Linked DNA regions of Homo sapiens: region 1 is linked to region 2. The links are contacts of gene promoters, found by promoter capture Hi-C in human tissues and cell types (Jung and others, 2019). All regions are on one chromosome and are shown on one strand. Each heading gives the region's core, a stretch centred on a gene start or on the middle of the fragment in contact. The rest is flanking DNA. Distances are from core to core; before and after follow the strand shown.

Region 1 (5,265 bases), core at 2,231-4,730, 720 kb before region 2:
ATAATCCCAGCTACTCGGGAGGCTGGGGTGGGAGGATCCCTTGAGCCCAAGAATTCAAGGTTACAGTGAGGTTATGATTGCCAGTCTGGGTGACAGAGCATGACCCTGTCTCTATAAAAAATAAGGGTTGGATGTGTTGGCTCACATCTGTAATCCCAGCACTTTGGGAGGCCAAAGCAGAAGATCACTTGAGCTTAGGAGTTCGAGACCAGCCTGGGTAACACGGCAAATTCCTGTCTCTACAAAAAAATACAAAAAATTAGCCAGGTGTGGTGGCACACAACTGTGGTCCCACCTACTGAGGAGGCTGAGGTGGGAGGATCACACGAGCCCAGAAGGTTGATGCTGCAGTGAGCTAAGATTGTACCACTGCACTCCAATCTGGGCGACAGTGAGACTCTATCTCTAAATAAATAAATAAATAAATAAATAAATAAATAAATAAAAGAAATAATGACCTACGGGAACAGACTCTGAGAACAGAAAAAATAAAAAATAAATCAAAATGATGACCTGCTTAAAACAACACTGATGAATCTAATAATTTCTGCTATTTAAACATTATGGTAGTTGTAGGGTAAACAGCAGGACCAGAGGTAAGATGAGAGCCTGGATTGTAACAGTAGCTTTGGGTATGGAGCTGCCAGTCAGCCATGAGATACATATTTAAATAGGTCTTAGTGGTTATCTGTGGGTGACTAGTTGAGAACAAGGAAGTGAAGATCTGATGTTTCTAGCTTGGGTAATCAAGAAGACAGCTTTGCTATTAAGACAGGAAACACAGCAGGAGAAAGACTTCTGAGGTGAGAAAAAGGTGATGAGTTCAGTGATTGACAACAAATTGAAATGTCCATAGGCTATTTAGGTGGAAATGTCTAAGAAGTAATTCAAAATGCATTCATTCAGGGCTGGGCACAGTGGCTAATATCTGTAATCCTAGCACTCTTGGAGGCTGAGGCAGGAGGATCACTTTAGGCCAGGAGTTTGAGACCAGTCTGGGTAACAAAACAAGACCTTGGTATATGCCTGTAGTACCAGCTACTCCAGCAGCTAAGGGTTACTTGAGCCCAGGAGTCTGAGACTGCAGTGAGCCATGATCACACCACTGCACTCCAACCTGCGCAAGAGTGAGACCCTGTCACGTACATACATACATATATATAAAATTCATTCATTATTGGGCACCAGCTAGGTGCTGGGAATACTGAGATAATAAACAACCCCCTTCTTACCTTAAAGGAGCTCACAATCTATTAACAGTTGGGAAAATAGATAAGCATATGGACCCTTAGAATGCAACATAATAATTGCTATGGTAGAGATGTGAACTGGTTCCATGGAATCACAGAGGAAGAACATCAACTCCAGACTACAGTGGTCAAAAAGCAATGTAAAGTGGAGACAGAGATCTGCAGCCCAAACTACGTTCGGTCACCCAAACAACAAAAGATTAAAATTAAACACAAATTGTGGGCAATATCAACACTTGAGAAGTCTAAAGAAAACAAATCAAAAGAATCAGAAGCAATGGTCAGGGAGTTAGGAGAAAAATCAGGAAAAAAAAAAAAAACACTTTCAAGAAAGAGGAAGTGGTAAACAGCTCCATAAACATAGAAAAGTCTGTAGAATTAGGACATAAATGAGGGTTGAATTTTACATTTTAAGTCACTAATGATTTTAGTGATGGTAGTTTCAAAAGGATTTTCGCATCCATTTCTTCCTTTCTAATTTCTACCTTGCCAGTTCTGGCTCTCATTACCTCTTGCCTAAAATCCTAACTGGTCTTCTTACCTCCAGTTTCTCCCCTCCCCAATCCATCATCCTATAAAACGCTGCCTAATCAATCTTAAAATGCAGCTCACCTGCTCTAAAATCCCCACTGACCCACCACGACCTATAGAATTAAGCACCATATCTACTGTATGTATTCAGGATTCTTCACAAAAGCCCTATTCTACCTTACCAATATTACTTCTACTCCTCCTTTCATATCCTACACTCCAAAAAACAGTGGGCAGTCACTTCTCTTTCAGCAGAACCCACCCTGGAAAGCTTCTAAGTTTGAAGACACAATTACATTCCATTAAATACAAACTTTATTGCTCCCTCCCTTAATTTTTAAGCTCCTTAATTACAATTAGAAGACATAAAGGGGGAAAAACTCCCACTTACGATAGCAATAAAAAAGATAAAATACCTAGAAACAATAAATGTCAGGAGGCTGCGGCAGGAGGATCACTTGAGCCCAGGAGTTCCAGGCCAGCCTGGGCAACACAGCAAGAACCCATCCTCCCCACCTGCCCCCAAAATTAGTAATAATGCAATCTAAATTTTAAAAAAAATCAAATGGGTTGCTTTGTTTTTGGAATGAGACCTAGACAATTTTGAGACAATTCTTAAATTCACATAGAAAACTAACCATAAAAAAAAAGCTCAGAGGAGGAAATAAAGAAAACTGAAGGGACTAACCCTGTTAGACAGTAAAATATAATCTAAACCCTCAACAAATAAGACAGCGTGTTAATAGTTCACAAACAGGCAGACAGACTAAAGGAAGAGAAGTTCAAAAATGAAACAAAATATATGTGAGAATTCAGTATATAATGAGAAAAAAATGGACTAAATAGGTGAGGATGACTGTGTGGTTATCTAGAAAAAATAAAATTATACCTATAACACACTATTCATACAGATAAATGAAGCAAAGATTTAAATGTAAAAATAAACCCACAAAAATAGTAAGATAAAATACAACAGAATTCTTTATAAACTCAAGAATAAAGAAGGCTTTTCTAATTGACTCAAAATACTAAAGCTTAAAAACCTTCTAAATGTCAAAAAATCATAAGCAAAATCACTGAGTTGAAACTGGAAAAACTATTTTCAACTTATCACAAAGGATTAATTTCCCTAATGTATACCAAATTCCCACAAATTGGTAAAAAAAGAATCTCACAGAAAAGTGGGCAGGGTATATAAACTGACAACTCTCAGAAGAGAAAATACAGGTTTTTCTTAAGTATGTGTATGTTCAATTCATTCATAATAGAAATGCAAACTAAAACTACATTGAGTTAAAAAAATCAATTTTTCCACCTATTGGAGTAGCCAAAATATTTGTGGTAACAGGCTGTTTTGATAATATAGGATTGTAGGAACTCTCAACCACGGTTTTTGGAGGTACAAAATAGTAAAACCCTATGGAAAGTACTATCTGTCAACACTACAAATATATATAAGTTAACCCTTGAACAACATAGGATGGAACTGTGAGGGTCCACTTACATGTAGATTTTTTACAACCAAACTCTTATGGAATACAGTATTTGCAACATGCAAAACCCACGTATACAGAGGGCCAACCTTCTGCATACATAGTTCCACAGGGTCACTTGAGGGACCTGAGTATGCGCAGATTTTGGTATACGTGGGCATCCTGGAACCAACTTCCAGCATACACCGACGGACCACTGTACTCTTTAACCCAGCAACTTCGCTTCTAGTAACTTAGCCCCAGGTTATATTTGTACTTGTTGAAATTATAGCTATACAAAGTTATTTAGCACAACGCTGTACAAAATAGCAGAAGGTAGGCTATCTAAAATGTCCACCAATGGAGTAATTAGTTCAATAAATTATGGTATATCCATACGAAGATACTATGCCAACGTAAAATGCAATCGGGAAGAGGAGAAATGAGGCCTCGATATCTACTCAAGAGAGTCTTTAAGATCCGGCAGACTGTCATCATAAGAAAAAGAGCACAAAACTCTATTTCATAAATATCTAAAAGCAGTAGTTATGGCTCCACATACATCACAAACAAAAACCATGATTCAAAACCATGTATACCATGCTAACATCTGTATAAAAAGGGGGGAAATATACATTTTTTATATTTACTTATATATACATAAAAATATCTCTAGAATTATACAGAAAGAAATAAAAGCTACATGGTGTTCAGAGTGAGAACTCAGCGAATGAGTAACAGAGATGGGAGGGAGATACTTTTCATTAAATACTTTTTATGCTTTTTTATTTCTGAATGTAGATACATTATTTTATTAAGGTGAAATTTGATTTGTATTTGAGGGTGAAATTCTGTAAACAGGAGCATTACATAAACACTATGTAATATTTTGACAAAGGTAACTCCAACCAAAACATTGTTCAAGCTGAAAATATCTGTTCATGCAACCACTGAGCTTACTCTACTTTGGCATGGAGTAAGCATATTTAAGATGGCTCAACTAACTTTATAAAATTATAAACCAGATTATGAACTTCAATTGTACTCGAAAACATTCAATTTCTAAAATTAATATTCCTGGTTATCAGGCAGCTGTTTTTATAATAAATATTTCAACCTATTCAGAAACAATATATAAGCACATTTTTAAAACCACAGTATGTATGACTTTGCTGATTAATCTAAAAATCTAAGCCAAGTACCCAGTTGTTCTACAACTGACGGGAATTACTTTCCATAAATTGGCTAACATACAAAGCCTTTCATAAAAGGCTGAGAATTACAGTGTTTTGCAACATAAAGGAACTTTCCCATTTCAGAGACATTCCCAAGGTAGTGCTATCCACAAAAGATGAGTTTACTGAACCGAAACGTTTTGTTTCTAGTGCACCATCTCTTCTACTACATCATACTTCTTTCCACAACAGCTTACCTCTTAGGGATGTAAGGGGAACGTTCTCAGGGCTAAGTTTTAGAACCCAGAAAGTGATAAAAATAAATCTCAGAGAGACAGGACAACTCTTCATGACTTTATAAAAGATATATTTTGTGACAGGCAACTCTAATAATAAAATATTAGCAAAACCACTATAGTACCATTCAAACCATGTCTGGAACTCTGCAATCACAACATTAATAAAATATATTGCTATATACATTACAAATAAACCAAAACCTAAAAAGTAAGGATCATGATTTTTATTCTAGGTAAATTTTATCTGTTTCATGCTTGTATTTCTTGACTTTAATTTCTTCAATCTCTTATCATTATTTTTACCACTAACCCCATAGCATATCAATGATAGTTCCATTTTTCTTGAAAGGGGATTCAAGCAAAAAAAAAAAAAATTATAGTTCCAGGAGGATTTTTTTTATGGAACAAAGTATTATAGTATCATTTCCCAAATTTCATTTAACTGAACACTTTATCTTCAGCTGATGTTAATGTTTTCGTTTATCTCAGGGAACAATAAAGAATGTTGCATTTTAAAAAGCTTACTTTCTGAATTACT
Region 2 (5,214 bases), core at 499-2,998:
GGTTGAGAAGCTTAGATGTAAGTCATCCTGAGTGACTTCTGTTTTCCCCACCCGTGAATATCAAGTTATAACAAGTATCAAGAGCAGAAGGTGAGAAACCCAAGATGCAGGCTTGTGAACTGGAGTAAAAGAAGGTATCAGGCTTTACTTTTCAATCTCCAGCTGCCACTGCCCATTGCTCTGCCATATATTTGCTAGCCTATGACCTCAGGAATCAACTGACTCTCTCTGAACCACTGTTTCTCATCTCTCAATGAACAATGGTTATGCTTCTCTCAAAGAATTGTAAAGTCTCAAAGAAACTGAGTAAATGCATGGCTATCAGTAAGCGCTCAATTCATGGGAGTCCCTGCCCAGCACCAGTGGCTCAGGCCCCAAAATTAACTACTCAAAAGGCAGCTCCATCTATAACAGTGGTTCCATCCCCTACCTTGCCCCGGGGGAAAAGTATGACACAGTAGCTGAGTACCCAACTTTGGGAGAGACCCCACAGTTGAGTTCAGTTCCCAGCAGCTCTCCTCCATGCCTTTGTGAACTTGGGCGAACAGCTAAACTTCCCCATAATTTGGTGTCTCATCCATGAAATAGAAATGGTGAAGAGTGTATTCTTTCTCTCATGAGAGTCATGAGAAAATGCAAAAAGAACTCAGCACACTGTCTAGGACAAAATAAATGTTGGATAAATGTGAACTAACATAAAGTTCTTTGGCTTTTTCTTTCTTTCTTTCTTGGCCCATACTTTCTCTTCTAAGTACCATTCACCCACCTTTGGGAGTGCGTCCCTGTGACTGAATGTCCAACATGGATATCAGACAGAAAGGAAAAAACTCAACAAATAACCAAGATCCTCTACGTCCCTTCCCCAGGTCTCTGACCTCCCTCACCCCCACTCCCAGATAGCCAGCTAGCTTCCTCCCTCAATTCCCTTCATGTTTCCTCAAATATCACTTCAGTGACATCCCAAGCACCCACTTAACATTTCAAATCCACCCCACAAACACCCCACTGCATTTCCCCCTCCTTACTTTATTTTCAGCCTAACACCTGTCATCACATTACACACCTCATCATTTGCTTATTTAGTATACTGTCTGTCTTCTGTCGGGAGAAGCTACGCTCCTATAGGGCAGGAGTCCGTCTATTTTGTTCAGTTGCTATGTTCACAGCGCCCAGAGCCAGGGCAGAGAGTGGAGACTCCGTAAGAATCGGCTGAATAAATGAGTGAATGCCTGAGCGAATGAAAGGATGAAGAGAAGCCAGATTTTACTGGGGCCAAAGAGTTTGCACGGGGCGAGGGGAGCCAGATGAAGGATGAGGGCTGGCCTCAGATCCGACTCAAGTCCCTCCCACCTGCCCAATCCTAGAATTCTCTTTCCCTCTTTTAGGTGCTGGACAAGTTGCATATCCCGTTAAATCCGGGGCCCACTCCGGGAGCCCCCTATTAAAGGTAAGCAGCCCCCAACCCACCTTTGACACGGAAGAGTGACTAGCGGGGAAAATAACCCCAGCGGGCCGCCTAGGGGTGGGTGACCCGCGATCTCCACGCCCAGGTCCCGCCCTCGCGGCCCCTGCCCCCGCCCCGCCCCCCGCAGAGGGCGCGCCCTGGGAGCGGCGGGGGACGCGGCTGGCTTCCCGGCTTGCGGGGTGGCGGCGTCGGGGCTGCGGGCGCCTTGGCTGGACCCGCATTGCCCCCTAGTGCCGCGCGGAGTCAGGGCGCCGGGCTCCCCCGCCTGATGTCACCGCCGTGCAGTCAGCCCAGAAGCGGCTCATTGAAAGCAGACCCTCTTCGGCGCTCGCTGGGCGGAGGACGCGCCGCGGTCCGCAGACCCGAGCGAGCTGGGCACCGCCGGGCGCCCCCGGCCCTGCCGCCCCCTCCTCCCCGCCGCTCCCCCGCGAGCCCGGCCAGGCGCGCCTGACGTGGACCATTAAACTTGGAGCTGCCGCCTCGTCCCCTCTCCTCCTCCTCCTCCCTCTGACAGGCGAGCGAGCGACTCGGTGCAGGCAGGAGACGTGCTGCCGGGCTGGGCTGCCCGGGGGAGATGACTCCTCGCCAGGAGGGCGCCTCTGGGAAGAAGACCACGGGGGAAGCAAAGTTTCAGGGCAGCTGAGGAGCCTTCGCCGCAGCCCTTCCGAGCCCAATCATCCCCCTGGCTATGGAGGGCGGACTCTAAGATGAATCCCGACCTGGACACCGGCCACAACACATCAGCACCTGCCCACTGGGGAGAGTTGAAAAATGCCAACTTCACTGGCCCCAACCAGACCTCGAGCAACTCCACACTGCCCCAGCTGGACATCACCAGGGCCATCTCTGTGGGCCTGGTGCTGGGCGCCTTCATCCTCTTTGCCATCGTGGGCAACATCCTAGTCATCTTGTCTGTGGCCTGCAACCGGCACCTGCGGACGCCCACCAACTACTTCATTGTCAACCTGGCCATGGCCGACCTGCTGTTGAGCTTCACCGTCCTGCCCTTCTCAGCGGCCCTAGAGGTGCTCGGCTACTGGGTGCTGGGGCGGATCTTCTGTGACATCTGGGCAGCCGTGGATGTCCTGTGCTGCACAGCGTCCATTCTGAGCCTGTGCGCCATCTCCATCGATCGCTACATCGGGGTGCGCTACTCTCTGCAGTATCCCACGCTGGTCACCCGGAGGAAGGCCATCTTGGCGCTGCTCAGTGTCTGGGTCTTGTCCACCGTCATCTCCATCGGGCCTCTCCTTGGGTGGAAGGAGCCGGCACCCAACGATGACAAGGAGTGCGGGGTCACCGAAGAACCCTTCTATGCCCTCTTCTCCTCTCTGGGCTCCTTCTACATCCCTCTGGCGGTCATTCTAGTCATGTACTGCCGTGTCTATATAGTGGCCAAGAGAACCACCAAGAACCTAGAGGCAGGAGTCATGAAGGAGATGTCCAACTCCAAGGAGCTGACCCTGAGGATCCATTCCAAGAACTTTCACGAGGACACCCTTAGCAGTACCAAGGCCAAGGGCCACAACCCCAGGAGTTCCATAGCTGTCAAACTTTTTAAGTTCTCCAGGGAAAAGAAAGCAGCTAAGACGTTGGGCATTGTGGTCGGTATGTTCATCTTGTGCTGGCTACCCTTCTTCATCGCTCTACCGCTTGGTAAGTTGGGGACTAGCAGCAGGGGGACTGGGCATTTTTGGACCTTGGGTTTACTGATGAGCTTACTCTAAAGTTTTTTGTGGGTTTTGTTTCTTATGCAGTCTGTGCGTGTTCGGAGATTGAATAATATTGTTTGTTCTGCAAAGGGTTTGCAGATTGGGGAGCTGGCTAAAAACCAACTCAGGTGTTAGTAGAACACGCTAAGGCACTAGCTTCTGGAAATAGAACCAGGGAAGGAAAATCTGGTATGAGGAATGACTCACTCAACAGCCTCGGTTTAATAATTAAAAAGGATATTCACTGGGCTTGAATATCACACCGGCGTTATTTCAGTAGTAATGATGTGTCGGCTAAGGCAGCGTCACTAATGCAGCATACAAAATAGTTTGTAGTTACTGCAGACGCGGCATTTGGGAAGCAGGGAGGCAGCTCGTACACAGAAAGGCAGCATTCATTCAGCATTTCCAGGGCTAGAGCAGAAGCCACGCTTCTCAAGAGCTTTGCAGAGGCTGCATTCTCTCCCTCCCCTCTTCACTGACAGCTATCACCCAGATATACTACGTTCATTATCCGTTAATAAGAGCATTTTACAGCCACACAGCCCCAACCAGCCTTTAAGTTATTGAAAGCTTGAGATGTGAAAGAGAAGATGACTAGAGGGTCACACATTTTTAGTTTTTACCCAAAAATGTTTCTAACTCTAGTGATTTATGGAATGCCCAGAATCAAATTATAGTTGTCCCTCATCTCAGCTGACAGAGACCAAATCCTGGTAAGATGGAATTCAGTGCGTCCTCCCCCTCTTATGAAAACATGTTCGTCTTCTTTTTGTTTGGTGGTCCTACTAACTGAATTGTTCAAAAGGCTACCTGATGTTTTCTAAGGAAGAAGCCAAGGTCTGGTTAGCAGGTAAACCTAAAGGGGGGCATCTGTCACATGCTGTCCACATGGCCTGGGGATCCCTTGTCCTTCCTCTGAGGCACTGATCTGCTTTGATTCCTTCTCCTATCCCTGGGGGACACTACAGAAAATGAATGGAGGGAGTTTATCATGACACAGTCATGTGCCATGATATCAGGAGAGGTAACAGCTGCTATACTGCGGACCACATATGCCTGCAATCACACCGGAGTCTCAGGTCAGACCCAAATATAACCAAATCCCTCAAACAGCTATAAATTCTGAAGGCACACTGCTTTCAAGAGAAAAATGCAAACAGAAAGGAAGCAAACAGATATCGAGTTTCCATTTAAAAAGAAAGAAAAAGATTTTCAAAAGCCGTCTAACCTTTTCTCCATGTCATCTTTTCTAAAGCAGGCCTGCAGGCTAATGCCTTTCAGAAATATTTTCAATGGTTAGTGTTAAGCAGAAAGGGTTTGAAAAAGTTCTACTCCCCAGGCGTGATCACATACCATTGCAGGGAAGCTTGCTTTTCTTTCCCAAGGTCTCAGGGTTCTTTTGCAGGCTTGTTCGGTTTACAGTGGATGACAGTTCACACTGCATTGGGTCATTACAAAGATCATGGTTGTACATGGAGCTGATGGAGGTGATTTGGCCTCTTATTAGCCATATGACCTTGGCCAAATGACCACTCCTGTATGAGCCTCAGTTTCTTCGTCTACAAAACAGGGCTGATTAATATTTGCTCCATGGAGTTTGCATTAATGTATAGGAAGGACTTAGCACAGTATCTGGTGTATAGCAGATGCTCAATGAAAGTTAGCTATGAGCAGTACAAACCAAACCCCAATCTCCCCTTCGGTATAACTGTGTCTTTTCTCCTTCTCTACACATTTGCCAATCCCACACCTGTTACTAAAGTCTTGGAAGAGAATTGAGTCTTTCTTCCTTTGCCCCTGGCCTCCAGCCTGCAGAGGCTGTGACCAGAGCATGCTCAGGAAGGAGAAGGCCTCAGCAGGATGCAGGAATGGATCAAAGGTGCAGGCTTTGGCTTTTAGGGGCAGGGGAAATAGCTCCAAACAGGTAAGGAGGCTTCCAGCATATTCAAATGGGAAGAACACGGCTCTGGTGATCAGGAGCAACAGAGTTCCCATTTGAGCTTTGCCATCAATTAGCTCTGTGGCTCTAGGCTT

Evidence for each region. Contacts are between HindIII fragments. The study calls those that stand out against the background at their distance.
Region 1: a fragment that was not itself captured here is called in contact with the fragment with the promoter of ADRA1B in region 2 in 1 of the 25 tissues and cell types used here (mesendoderm cells).

What each region holds. Positions count from the first base shown.
Region 1 is chr5:159,197,834-159,203,098 of GRCh38, forward strand. The region is part of intron 2 of RNF145 (ring finger protein 145); the gene reads right to left. Among named protein-coding and RNA genes, the nearest start is that of RNF145, 9.1 kb to the right of the region's middle. The HindIII fragment of the contact is 5,582 bases long and covers 690-5,265 here.
Region 2 is chr5:159,914,734-159,919,947 of GRCh38, forward strand. ADRA1B (adrenoceptor alpha 1B) reads left to right here and starts at 1,749. Exons shown (of 2, transcript NM_000679.4): 1 at 1,749-3,121. The coding sequence starts at 2,173. RefSeq lists a silencer at 1,583-1,642 and enhancers at 1,706-2,322, 2,323-2,939. The HindIII fragment of the contact is 5,190 bases long and covers 1-4,148 here.